5 separate regions of the Homo sapiens genome follow, and all the other regions are linked to region 5. Evidence: promoter capture Hi-C in 16 types of primary human blood cells and fetal thymus (Javierre and others, 2016). All regions are on one chromosome and are shown on one strand. Each heading gives the region's core, a stretch centred on a gene start or on the middle of the fragment in contact. The rest is flanking DNA. Distances are from core to core; before and after follow the strand shown.

Evidence for each region. The method cuts DNA at HindIII sites, captures the fragments that hold promoters and counts their contacts. A CHiCAGO score of 5 or more calls a contact.
Region 1: a fragment that was not itself captured here is called in contact with the fragment with the promoter of PPP1R3C in region 5 in 4 of 17 cell types (M2 macrophages, endothelial precursors, M0 macrophages and 1 more); the score reaches 12.5 in M2 macrophages.
Region 2: a fragment that was not itself captured here is called in contact with the fragment with the promoter of PPP1R3C in region 5 in 1 of 17 cell types (M2 macrophages); the score reaches 5.0 in M2 macrophages.
Region 3: a fragment that was not itself captured here is called in contact with the fragment with the promoter of PPP1R3C in region 5 in 11 of 17 cell types (endothelial precursors, activated CD4 T cells, M1 macrophages and 8 more); the score reaches 8.9 in endothelial precursors.
Region 4: a contact is called between a fragment that was not itself captured here and the fragment with the promoter of PPP1R3C in region 5, in 5 of 17 cell types (endothelial precursors, naive CD8 T cells, M0 macrophages and 2 more). The highest score is 7.6, in endothelial precursors.

The regions. Positions count from the first base shown.
Region 1 is chr10:91,496,522-91,499,221 of GRCh38, forward strand. HECTD2 (HECT domain E3 ubiquitin protein ligase 2) reads left to right here. Exons shown (of 21, transcript NM_182765.6): 16 at 1,587-1,661; 17 at 2,351-2,438; 18 at 2,523-2,629. The region is part of intron 3 of HECTD2-AS1 (HECTD2 antisense RNA 1); the gene reads right to left. Among named protein-coding and RNA genes, the nearest start is that of HECTD2, 88 kb to the left of the region's middle. The HindIII fragment of the contact is 2,610 bases long and covers 42-2,651 here.
Region 2 is chr10:91,480,228-91,482,927 of GRCh38, forward strand. HECTD2 (HECT domain E3 ubiquitin protein ligase 2) reads left to right here. Exons shown (of 21, transcript NM_182765.6): 7 at 867-912. All of the region lies in intron 3 of HECTD2-AS1 (HECTD2 antisense RNA 1), which reads right to left. Among named protein-coding and RNA genes, the nearest start is that of HECTD2, 71 kb to the left of the region's middle. The HindIII fragment of the contact is 2,519 bases long and covers 154-2,672 here.
Region 3 is chr10:91,379,577-91,382,276 of GRCh38, forward strand. The region is part of intron 3 of HECTD2-AS1 (HECTD2 antisense RNA 1); the gene reads right to left. Among named protein-coding and RNA genes, the nearest start is that of HECTD2, 29 kb to the right of the region's middle. The HindIII fragment of the contact is 5,140 bases long and covers 1-2,700 here.
Region 4 is chr10:91,395,943-91,398,642 of GRCh38, forward strand. All of the region lies in intron 3 of HECTD2-AS1 (HECTD2 antisense RNA 1), which reads right to left. Among named protein-coding and RNA genes, the nearest start is that of HECTD2, 13 kb to the right of the region's middle. The HindIII fragment of the contact is 766 bases long and covers 1,013-1,778 here.
Region 5 is chr10:91,631,646-91,634,345 of GRCh38, forward strand. It overlaps PPP1R3C (protein phosphatase 1 regulatory subunit 3C), which reads right to left and starts at 1,426. Exons shown (of 2, transcript NM_005398.7): 1 at 1,311-1,426. The coding sequence starts at 1,324. RefSeq lists enhancers at 1,057-1,558, 1,559-2,058 and a silencer at 1,393-1,532. The HindIII fragment of the contact is 3,050 bases long and covers 400-2,700 here.

The DNA.
Region 1 (2,700 bases), core at 97-2,596, 140 kb before region 5:
TTTCCTTAGAGACACATGTCACCCACTTTGCAGTGCTCCTAAGCTTTTACAAGATAGAGAGGCAGTAATTCGAATCCAGGCTCTGTCACTTACTAGCTCTGTGAATTTGGACAAGTTATTTAACCCTTCAATTTAGTTTCTTTATGTGAACAATGGGATAGTTTTTATTAATAATTTTTAAATGATGACAATTATATCAAATCTGTGCCAGCCTAGATTTGTATGAAAATTTGTGGTTTTAAAGGAATAGAACATTTATTATGTAAAATATAGAAAATCATTCTAATCATGCTATTATTTACCTTTTTCTAATAATTTAAAATAAAACTTTAATTTTTTCATAAAAATTAAATTGAAAATTTTGAAATATTGGATCAATTTTTCTATTTTTAAATCTTTATTTATGGATAATTTCAATTATAATATAATGTAAGAAAATCTTTCTTTTTTTTTTTTGAGACAGAATCTCACTCTGTCACCCAGGCTGGAGTGCAGTGGCTCCACCTTGGCTCACTGCAACCTCCGCCTCCTGGGTTCAAGTGATTCTCGTGCCTCAGCCTCCTGAGTATCTGGGATTTTAGGCATGTGCCACCGTGCCCGGCAAATTTTTTTTTTTTTTTTTTTTTTTTTTTTTAGCAGAGACGGGGTTTTGCCATGTTGGCCAGGCTGGTCTCGAACTCATGGCCTCAAGTGATCCGCCTGCCTCAGCCTCCCAAAGTGCTGGGATTACAGGCATGAGCCACTGAGCCCAGCCAGAAAATGTTTCTTTTTTTTTTTTTTTTTCTGCCCAAGACAGTCTTGCTCTGTTGTCCAGGCTAGAATGCAGTGGAACAATCTCAGCTCACTGCAACCTCCACCTCCCAGGTCCGAGCAATTCTCCTGCCTCAGCCTCCCGAATAGCTGGGATTACAGGTGTGAGCCACCACACCTGGCTATTTTTTTTTTTTTTTTTTTTTTTTTTGGATTTTTAGTAGAGACAGGGTTTCACCATGTTGGCCAGGCTGGTCTTGAACTCCTGACCTTGTGATCTGCCCACCTCGGCCTCCCAGAGTGCTGGGATTACAGGCATGAGCCACCGTGCCCGGCTAACCAGAAAATGTTTCTTTCAGTATACTTAACTTTTTCTTGGGAGGGGAGGGCACTGTGCATGTATGAACTGTATATTCATGAATGCACATGAATGAACTGTGTGTTTTATGTTTAAAATATGAATCCAAAAACATTAGCAGATTTTCATAGGAATATAAATTGAAAGTGAGAAATACTACAAATTCATAAACAGTAATGTGGCAGATAGCAGTGAATTATGACAGACACTACATTAGAGGTATGCTTAGCTTGCTGCTTAAGAGTAGACCCCAGAGTTATGCCCCTGTAGTTTGAACTGGATAGTTTCCCCATCTATGACCTATAATGATTTTTTTCTTAGCCTCTGGATGGTAGAAATCATTAACCATTTTGTGCCCTGGAAAATACATGTCAAATATGATCTTTATATACATATGCATGAGCTATAGAAAAGCCACTTCATTATCCTAGCTAATGCTATTCTATTGAAAAAATCATTAACAGATTTCTTTTTATAGGAGTTGGCCCATGGATTAAGTGAACTCTTATCACATGAAGGCAATGTTGAAGAAGATTTCTATTCAACATTTCAGGTACTATTAAGGGCAAGTAGTTATCTGTTAATCATATATTTCATATATGAACAGTGCAATTTGTTATTAAATACCCACTGTTAGAAAAGATGAACAAGGATTAACCAATACATACAATCCTCTGTCTTAAAGGACCTTAACCTGATAAAGTAGACATGTGTAGATGAGCAGTCAATGAAAGTGCTTAATGAAATTCACTAAGGGTTCAGAGTACTCTCTAGGCAATTACATATCCCCTTGAGTTGGTTACTTTCTCAGAGCTTTTTAGTTTCTAAAAATAAGCCTCTCCTGTAACTTCAACATTAGAAGCTAGGAGTAGAAACTAATGAGTCAGACCAAAACTCTCTGATTTCCACTCCTTTTACAGTATTTGGGAAATGGACATTACAGTGATCTGCAGAGCTCCAGGGACCCGCTGTGTATTATCTAGATGTCCACACAGTTTTGTGGACTTCATTAAAGTATTTAACTGTATTAGGCAGGGTTAAGTTAAGGCACTATTTTTTAACTCCATAATTCTTTTATGATCCCTCGTTCTTAATACAAATATTGCAAGAGCTTAGCCTTTTATAGTTTATGTGTTTAGAAGGAAGGGGGAAAAAAACTGTTTTTTAAATTTTACAAACCTGTTCACCAAAGTATGTTATTATATCAACCATATTAATATGTGTAATGGCATCTCCCATCAGGTTTTTCAAGAAGAATTTGGAATAATCAAGTCCTATAATTTAAAGCCCGGTGGTGATAAAATTTCAGTTACCAATCAAAATAGAAAAGGTAAGTTAATACCCTTTTTAATTAAAATGAATTAGTATTTGCCATTTACTTTTACTATTTAAGAGATGTAAAATTGCTTTTCAGAATATGTACAGCTTTATACTGACTTCCTTCTGAACAAATCCATCTATAAGCAGTTTGCTGCATTTTATTATGGATTTCATAGTGTGTGTGCTTCAAATGCCCTAATGGTGAGTTTATAACTTTAAATCAAGCTTTCGGTTAGCTTTTGTAGTACTATCATGTTAACAAATAATTAATA
Region 2 (2,700 bases), core at 163-2,662, 150 kb before region 5:
TGCATGCCTGATAATTTATGCAGGCATAAATGACCTTGCCAAGATTATAAAGCTCTAGGTAGGATAGGAAAGGACTTGGAGGAATAGGTGATATATACAAATAGATCTTGAGCAGGCAAGAAAGAAACACTTGTCAGCATAGAGAATGACAAAAGCTTTAATATCTGGGTTTTGTTTTTCAATCCAGGACCCAGTTAGGAATCATGAATTGCATCTGGTTGTCATAGAGGTGAACCATTTTCAATTGAAGAAGTTACTTCCAGATATCTGTGAGAATGTACCAAATAGATCTTGAGCAGGCAAGAAACACTCATTAGCCTTGAGAATAACAAAAGCTCTTGGCCAAATCTCATACTATGAGAATTCATATTAAGATGGAAAAAATTACTTACTTTTCATGATTCTTTCTGTTAGAAGCATACTGGATGTATTTAAAGTATGATTTGATTTACAGACATTTCTACATCACTTTAGGAATGAACCTAGAAACACAAGCATATTTTCTTTCTTTAATACATAAATGTTCTTAAGTAAAGATTATCCTTTATTAAAACAAAAACATAAGTATTCTAAAATTGATGATTTTATTACACACCTAACTACTTCCAGAGTTAATCATATTTACCTCACAAAATGTTATAGCCTAGTTAGCTCAGTCTTTAGTTATCTTCAGAATCAGCCTAGGAGAGGCACAGAAGCACTTGTATTTTCAGCATATTATGGACTGTCTCAATAATAATGCATATTAATCCTAGTTTTTGGCTTTTCTCAACTCAGTCTTCATAGAAAAGTTTATTGGTCTTTTTCGTTAGATGCTATGAGATTAAACATTCATCCATAATAAATTATTCTTGTTTCTTTTTCAGTCCACGAACAAAAGATGATCTTAGAGCATATTTTATACTTTTACAGGTAAGAGAACCAGAACCTAGTTGAAGTTGTCTAAGTCAGATCTCAATCCCTACATGTGTATGTGAAATGATATTAAATATTAAATATCATTTTGGGCAACATTATTGATTCTTTTTAGAATTATAGTTACCTGTAACCAGAAGATTTTTTTTAAAGTAGGATTAATAAGATTAAAAGATAAGTAAGATTTTAAAAAGTAAGAAAAATAAGATTAAAGCCATAACAAATAAATAATCAGAAGCTAAATTACATGTGAGATTAAAATTTTGATTTAGTTCCTGCCAGAGTATTCAGGAACAAACAGAATGGAAGCACTTCTTCCTCCTCCATTCAAACCTGTTTCTTGTAACTAGTTTTAACAGGCTTCAGGATTTTCTTTTATTTTCCCATCTAGTAGGTTTTCACTTCACTATGTATTTTTCAATAACTTCAATTAGAATTCTTATGGAAAGATAAAAGGTTTTTTTTTAATTTGTTATAAAGCGAAGATAATGAACTTTTTCCTCTTGATAGATACAGATTAATAGATACAAAAAGAAATTAAGATCCAGACAAATGAAAAGCAATTTTTACTTTTTATTATTTTTTGAGGAAGAAATACATTATTACCATAGCTAGCATACTATTAATACATTTGCATTATTCTTTACAATTTATAAAAGTTGTCCATGTATATTATCTCATTTAAAAGTAAGGAAAACTATATTAAATAAGTATAGTGTTTAGTACAATATTATGATATTATAATATCAATATGTCTAATGAAAGAACATATACAGGGTAGGGATAGAGAAAGTGAGGAAAGAGGAAAAAGTGGAAAAGGGGGGAAAATGACCAAGAGGTAGTTAAGAAGAGAAATGTAAGGAGGGAAAATAGAGAAGTAAGAGGAGAAAGAGCCAAAACTCAAGAATAAACATATGTAGAGATAGTAAAAGCTAGAAAGATGACACGAAGCTCAGATTTTAGGTGAGTATATTGGTCAGCCATAAGCTCTGCTCATATTTTGTTCTTCTCAAGAGCCATTACCAGATGAAGTTATCAGCTGAGGTCAGTCCCAGATTTTGAGTTGTTCTGTCAATAAGTCAGTTTTGAAAAACACATGGTGCTCTCTTATTTTTCACAATTTCAGGAGGTTTTTTTCAATAATATTTATTTTTTCCATGATGTGCTGAAATGTACATTGTGCTAGAATTTTATATTTTGGAAACATTAACTAAAGGCTTTTCTTAGTTTACAAGTATTCCTTCAGCGTCCCTTTATCATTTAAAAGTTGTCAGAAGCTGTATGTGTTTCTCCCCTTGTTCTTTGTGATATATGAGGCTAACTCATTTTACAATGGCAAAAGTTTCACAACCAGCTTTTACTTCGTTTTTCTAGCTTTTAATCAAGGAACACCCAGGTTTTTTGCTTTTAATTGGATGATAGTGATTGGTACCATTTATGAAGGCACTTTTTATGAAGGTGCTTTATATACATTTTCTTTTTCGATACTCAAAACAACCCTTAAGATAGAGAATATCATTCCCATTTTACAGATAAGGACATTGAGAATCAAAGTGTAAGGAACATGCCTAAGGGCATATAGCTAGTAAGTGGTAGAATTAGCCCTCAGACCCAGATCTGTCTTAACTCCAAAGCCCATGCTCTTTTCACTGTATAGCCGCAGTGTAAATGAAAGTCTCTGTTAATTAAATAACAAATAGGTTATTGTTATTTTATAATCTCAAATTTTGTTTCCTGAATTTACCACGTACTTATTAAGCTTAGTGTCTTTCCTTTTACGTGTTA
Region 3 (2,700 bases), core at 162-2,661, 250 kb before region 5:
GTCTTGTATTAGGCTGTTCTTGCATTGCTAAAGAAAAACCTGAGACTGGGCAATTAAAAAAAGAAAGAGGTTTAATTGACATATGGTTCTGCAGGCTTTACAGGAAGCATGGTGCTGGCATTTGCTCAACTTCTGGTGAAGCCTCAGAGAGCTTTTCATCACGGCAGAAGGCAAAGCACAGGCAGGAAATTCACATGGTGAAAGCAGGGGCAAGTGAGAGGAGGGGGAGAGGTGCCAAAACCTTTAAATGACCATATCGCATGAGAACTCAGTTGCTATCATGAAGACCGCACCAAACCATGAGGGATCCACAACCCATGATCCAAACATCTCCTACTAGGCCCCAATTCCAGCACTGGGGATTACAGCTCAACATGAGATTGTGGCAGGGACAAATATCCAAACTATGTAAGGTCTAAAATTAATGGAGAAGTCAAGTGGAATCCAATTTAGAGTAGCTCCAGGAAGTAGAATTTCCATGGGATTCTATAGGGGAACTCTATCAGCACTGGCCCCTCTTGGGGACAGCAAACAAGGAAGAGGAAGTCACAAGGTCACACCTGTCTACAAGGCAGTGTTTCCACATTCCACCATAGCTTTGGCATTTTATCTCTCACTTCCTCTGGACCTATGCGTAGGTAACTGGCCCTATCTCCACTCTCTGTGCAAAAAATCCCCCCTGGCAGGGCCTCTCTACCATTCTCCAGCTTCAGGCCTGCAAAAGCCCCAAGATCTAACTCCTAACAGAGAGCTGAGAGGCCTCAGCCCATTTGTCAATCTAAGCATGACCAGTGACTACTAAATAAAACTGACACTTAGGCCAGGCACAATGGCTCACACCTGTAATCCCAGTACTTTGATAAGGCTGAGGCTGGAGAAGACCTTGAGCCCAGGAGTTCAAGACCAGCCTGGGCAACATAGTAAGACCCCATCTCAACCAAAACACTAAACGGACAAACAAACAAACCAACAACTGACACTTAGATTCTCATTTACCTTTTAGTATTTATCATTTAATGGATTAGAACCAAAGAGAAGAAGGAATGCGCTATTATCTCCCCAGACCTCATAGAGTTAGTTCAACTGGACAAAACTCATGAATCAAATGTACTCCACTTGAGAAAAGACTGAAAAGAAAGTGAATGGTTAGCCTAGAACTACAGTTAGCCTTCATAAATTCTGTAAAGTTTATGAAAAATGTAGATTCTAGGGCTTCTCCCTTGAGATTTTGATTCTGAAAAGTTTGGAATGATACCTTGGAATCTGAATATTTAAATTCCCCAGTAAATTTAGATGCAGGTTGTTTTCAGTGGCCTAGACAATAAAAAGGGAAAATTTAAAGTTGCAAAAGTTGCTGGGGTCACCTAAATACTGTCCAGAAGATAGCTGATCTCTGTGCAGGTTGCATCCCTGCCGTGAATTATGTAGCTGCTACCCTTGTTCTGGTTCTGAGCTTATCTACAACCTTCTGGCCATAATTTGGCATCCCTTGTGGCTTGCCTGCAGGGAGATAATTGACAGATCTGCTGACATGAGCACTCTGCTCTGTTGACAGCTCTTTCTCATTACAAAATCAATACATTGGCATTACGCTTACATTTTTATTTCTGTGGCTTTGGTTACTACAGGTCTCTCCTGAAAAGCAGTTTCTCACGGTGCAAATGAAAGTGGAGCTGATCAGTCTCACATACAGAAGAATGTTCAGAACAGTAACTTCCTGCTCTGATCCCAACAGTGTCTACCCTCCCTAGAGCTCCACCCCTGCCTGGCCTTTGTCTGCAATTTCCAGGGCCACCCACACCGTCCCCGCTCTCCCAGTGCCCTGGGGAGCCGCTCTCATTTATCAAATGCTCCTTGTTCCCTACCACCTCTCAGCCTATTAAACCGCTCTGTTCCCAGTCTCTGATCTTATCTCTTCCCCTCCTTGGCTTGAAGTTGTTGTCAATCATGCCACTCCATCTTTTTTTCTTTTCTTCCCCCACCACCCCCCACCAGCCCCCTGTGATAGAGCTACAGACAGTTTACAGCTCTTTTGGTCTGGCATGACAAAAAGACCCCTTTCTGTTATCCTCACTTAGTGCACGCCTGACCCCAGAGGGCAGTTGGGTGTGTGCCGTGGTCCTGGGAAAGGAAATGGGGGAGAGAGAAAAACTCATCTTGCCAACAGGGTTAAAGCCAGACCCATCGCTGTGTCCAATTCACCACAAATGAATGTCACTCTGTACTGTGTGTTGGCAGCCAGCTGGCTTCTCGGGCGAAACCTCTGTGAATTGCCTGAGCCACATGCCTCAGCATTCATACTGCATCACATTCAAGTTAAAGAACAGAAGAAAAGGCACACTAGATTAGACCCATCTTTCTTCCCAGGCAGACTTGGGCTCTTAACAGTGGCAGTGTCTGTCAGGTTGCCCTTCAAGATATTCACCTCAATAGATTAGAGACAGCCCCACACAGCTTCTTTTCTTTTGTAACCTATTATTTAATCCTCTCCTTTATTCTCACTATCAAATTTGTCATCATGTTCTGCCAATTTCTCTTGTCACAGTCATCATTCTAACCCTCATTATCTCACATTCCAGCTATGGAGAGGCTCTGATTTTTGTGTTGGGTCTTCCCTCTCCCTACTAAAGTGATCTTCATGAAACACTTTCATCATCTCACTGGTTGGCTCCGAGTCCTACTAGGGCAGTCAGATCCAGG
Region 4 (2,700 bases), core at 146-2,645, 240 kb before region 5:
GTGCAATGAGCATCAAATGTCACTGCAAACCCCAGCACCAGGCCTGCCTCAGTGTACACTAGGGCTACACTGGCCCCCTGAGACTCTGAGGACCCAGGCTCCAAGCCCACCCCAGCCACAGGCCAGCCTCTACAGACTCAGAATCAAGGCCTGCCTCAGTGCCAGTTCAGCCCCCATTAACATAGGCTTCAGGCCAGCCCCTACAAGCCTAGACTCCAGGCCTGCCCTCCTGGACCCAAGCTCTAGGCCCATCCTCCCAGATCTAGTCACTAGGTTCACTCCAGTAGACTCTAGTACCAGTACCAGGCCAGTCTCCATGGATTGAGGCACCAGGCCCATCCACCCATGGAAAGCGTCACCAGTTCAGACCACTCAGGGACTCTAGTATGAAGCCCACCAATAGACCCTTTCAGTCAGCCCACCCAGAATCTGTGGATGGGCTGACTGGTGAAGTACTTTCCTTGCTGAAGCCAGTCTGTAAAGACTGAAAGACATGCCTACTTCTTCAAATGCCAGACACCAAAGCAAGGCCAAAAAGATCAAGAAAACATACAACACTAAAGGAACAAAATAAAGTATCAGTTACTGATCCTAAACAAATAGAAATCTACAAACTGCCTGACAATTAATTCAAAATAATTGTCTTAAAGAGGCTCAGTGAGCTGCAAAAGAATGCAGATAGATAACGAAACAAAATCAGGAAAACAATTCATGAACAAAATTAGAAGTTCAACAAAGAGATTGAAGCCACACCAAAATAAACCCAACAGAAAATCTGGAGCTGAGAAACATTATCCAATTGAAAAATTCTATAGAAAGTTTCAACAAGCTGGCAAAATCAAGCATAAGAAAGAATCAGTGAGCTCAACAACAGGCTACTTGCAATTATCCAGTCAGAGGAACAACAACAACAAAAGAATGAAAAGAGTCTACAGGACTTATGGGACACCATCAAGCAAACCAATATATGCACTATGAGAGACTCAAATAGAAGCAGAGAAAGAGAGAAGAAAGCTTAAAGAAATAATGACAGAAGACTTCCCAAATATGTGGATGAAATGAACCTCCAGCTTTACAAAGCCCAAAGAACTTTAAATAGATTAAACATAAAGAGATATTCATTGAGACACCTTATAATCAAACTGTCAAGAATCAAAGAATTTTGAAAGCAGCAAAAGAAAAGCAATTTGTCACATAAAAGGGATTTCAGTGGATCAGGCTAATAGTGGATTTCTCAGCAAAGACCTCATATGCCAGAAGAGAGTGAGATCATATTGCTAAGTACTGAAAGAATAAGATGAGTAAGATTTCCAACCGGAAATACTACACCTGGCAAAGCTGTCCTTCAGAAATGAAGGAGAGATAAAGACAAACAAAAGCTGAGGGATTTTCTTCCTACTACACTTGCCTTATAAGCGATGCTAAAGAAAATCTTCAAGCAGAAATGAAAGGATGTTCATTAGTAACATTAAAATATACAAAAGTAAAAAATTCATTGTAAAGATAATAATATAGTCAAATTCGGAATACTGTAATACTGTAATGGGGTGGTGTGTATATCACTTTTAACTCTAGTATAAAAGTCAAAGGACAAAAGTATTAAAAATAACTATAGCTACAATAATTTTCTAATAGACATACAATGTAAAAAAGATGTAAATTGTGGCATCAATAACAAATTATGAGCAGGGGAGAGAGAAAGTGTAGAGTTTTTGCATGCAAAGTTAAGCTCTTGCTGGCTTAAAGTAGACTGTTATAACTATAAGATGTCTTGTGCAAGCTTCATGGTAATCACAAGGAAAAAAACCTGTAGTAGTTGCACAAAAGAGAAAGATATTAAAGCACATCACTATACAAAACCATCAAATCACAAAACGAGACAGCAAGAGAGAATGAAAAAAAACAAAGGAACTAAAAAACAGAAAAGAATTCATGAAATGGCAGTATAGGTTGAGTATTCCTTATGTGAAATTCTTGGGACTAGAGGTACTTTAGACTTTTTTTTTTTTTGGATTTTAGAATATTTGCATTATACATACCAGCTCAGAATCTTTAATTTGAAAATCCCAAATCCAAAATGCTCCACTGAGCATTTCCTTGGAGCATCATGTCATCCTTCAAAAAGTTTCAAGTTTTGGAGTATTCTGGATCTTGAATTTTCAGATTAGGGATACTCAACCTGTAGTAAGTCCTTATCTATCAATAACTCTTTAATTTTAAATGGATTAAATTCTCCAACCAAAAGACATAGATGGCTGAATGAATAATTTTATAAAACAAACACAAGATCCAACTATATGCTGCCCACAATAGACTCACATTAGGTTTATGGACAACACATATACTGAAAGTGAAGAGCTGGAAAAAGATATACCACGCAAATAGTAACTTAAAGGGAGCCAGGGTAGCTATACTTATGTCTGACAAAATAAACTATAGGTCAAAAACTGTAACAAGACAAACAAGGTCATTATATAATGAAAAAGGAGTCAATTCATCAAGAGAATATAACAATTATATATAAGTGCTTAGCATCAGAGCATCTAAATGTAAATAAAGCAAAATATTAATACACCTGAAGGAAGAAACATATAACAATTTGATAATAGTAGATTATTTCAGTACCCCACTTTCAACAATGCATAGATCATCTGTACAGAAAATCACTAAGGAAACAGAGGGCTTGAACAACACTACAGA
Region 5 (2,700 bases), core at 176-2,675:
CAAGCCAACAATTCATATGCACTTAAAAACTATATAATTGATAATTCACCTAAAGAGATGCCCATGACAAGTCCACATTTAAGTGGAAAAACTGATTACCTGAAAGTTGGAGTGTTTTAAAATATACATTTTATATATACAAACTTATAAATATTGAAAAACTCTATAGGAAATACACCTTTCCTAATAATTTAATAATTATTATTTCTGGGTGATAGGATTATAGATTATCTATTTTCGTTTTTGTTCTTTTTTGGCATTTTCTAATAGACATTTATAAGTAGAAAGACAATAAAACCATTTAAAGTTTTAAACATGACTATGCTCAGCAATATTAAACCAAGAAGCATCTATAAAGAAGACTTTTCTCTGACCTTTAGCCCTCATCATATATTTCCAAGCTTATGGTATTAAGATTTTTTTCCCTATCTTAGCCTTACAAGTAAGAGGTGTGTGTATACTGTACACGACATTTCTCAGTCTGGCTTTAGTAACTCTCCTCACAGCAGCTCTAAACATGTATGCAAGTGGTCATTATCACAAAAGTGTGTAATAACACTCGCAGAATTTACTGTGTTAGCTCTGGGGTTTTTCTGGGAGATCTGCAAACTTAGAACAAACAAATGAAAGCTAAAGCTATATTTGTGGGTCTAATAATAGTTAATAGGCAGGATTTTTAGAGAAGTCTTCTGCTAAGCTATGTCTGGAGAAGCTATTTAAAGTAGTTTTATGGGAGGTTTTTTTTGGTTTTTTTGTTTTTTTTTTTTTACTTTTTGCATTTATAGAAAGACAGTTTTAGTTTGGGTGATTTCCTTGGAACTTTAAGTCCTGGACAAGAGTTAAAAGTAATCGTTTGCTCAAACTCTTGAGATTTTGCTATGGCAAACTGTGATAAGAAGGACGAATGAATGCAAACGTCGTCCTGTAATTTTTTTCCTCCAAGCTAAACCACCTAACCAGCAATGTCAGAGTGCTGTTCTCACCACTTCAGCTGCCCGAGTCTTTGGGACATTTGTGCAGGACCAAAAGAACAGCCGCATCCATGAGAAAATCCTAACTCAAGCTGATTCACGTTAAGATAATTTCTGCTTTAAGATGCTGATTACTAAAATAGGCTCTGCTTAAGAAATAGAGCCAAATTTCTACACCTCCAAGGCCTCTCGGTTGCCAGATTCAACTACGCAGTCAGTCCACTTGTCCTCCCCCTGGGGTGTCCATTTCCAGAGATGATAGAACTGAAACGCCCCCCAACTTCCCCACAGCTGCGCGTTCCCCTGTGTTCCTAGCGCGCAGAGTTGCAGCGAACCTACCTGGTGCAGCTCATTAGGCAGAGAGGCGGCGGACCCTAAAAGCCAGCACCCGCTGCCTGCACAAATTCGAACCACAGCTCCAGGCCTTGCCCCCGCGGCGGTCGCTGGGAGAGACTGAGGGCCCGGCGCCTAGAGGCCGCTTATCTGCTCCCAAGCACGTGACCCGATCCCTGGGACCAATCGCCGGGCCTCGAGCCCCAGGGCGCGACCAACCAGCGCCCAGCTGGGGCGCCAGCCCTCGCCCCGGCAACGTGATCGCCCCGGGGCGAGACGTGCAGAGAGCTATCTGGGCATCGCGGGGAGGTTCTGGGACTCCGCGGCCAGCTGGAACCAGCCGCGTAACGGGAACCCTGGGCTAGGGGCCGGGCAGGCACGTACCGCATGCAGCGGGCGCCGGCCAAGAGAGAGCGCAGCCAGCCTCGCCCAGGCGGGGCGCCAGTGCCTCAGGCTTGGGGCGGCTGTTACTTGGGAATAGCTTTGTGGGTCACTGCGGGTGAATCTGCACACAGAAGATGTGGCTCAAACCGAATGTGTATCGCATTTGAAATGTTTATATCGTTCATTACCCGGTGTATCCGCATTTCTCCCTCACCTTAGCCTGCGCGATCCCAAACTGGCTGCATGCTTTTCGATTAGTATGAGTTCACAGATGCACCACACAGTAGACAGCTGCCGGGAATTACCAACTTATCTAACAAATGTTGTTAGGAAAGCATACGAGCCCCATAAAACACCAAGGTGGCATTTAATTAAAAGACACTTCGTATTTCTGTCTATTCTTCAATTTTCTCCCCTGCGGGGAACACTAAAGCCGGAAGTGAAATGACCCTTTTCACACATACAGCCGGTCAAGAGGCAGCAGTCAACCCAAACCCCTTACTCAATTCTGACGTCCTTTGGCAGTGGTGTGGAAATCAAAATGTTAAAATAAAATTTAAAAAATCACGCCGTATGTTTCATGGGCCTTCTGAGCCACTCACTTTCGCTGAAGTTTCATTATTTTGATTAGTTTGAAGAATTTTTAGACCATCATTTACAACTGTAAAATTAAATGTCTAAGTCAAGTCTAAATTATTTTTATAAAACCCACATCCTAGTTTTGCTCCCCTAATTGAGCTATCCATTAGTCAATTAAAATATACAAAAATTCCTATGTCTTTTAAACAACTGTCAAACAGTGGAATTGTTAAAATTATTAGAGTGAAGAAAAAAATCACACTGAATATCACTGGGAAAGGGACTTCATGCCTGGGTTTTATTTTTGAAATGAAATATCTAACTAATGGCAGGTCTTCTAGCCCCTTTAGCTCAACCAAAACTAGCTGGAAGGTCTTTGGATTGACACTTACTAGCTACACGAATCTAGGCAAGTTCTAACCTCAGTTTCCTC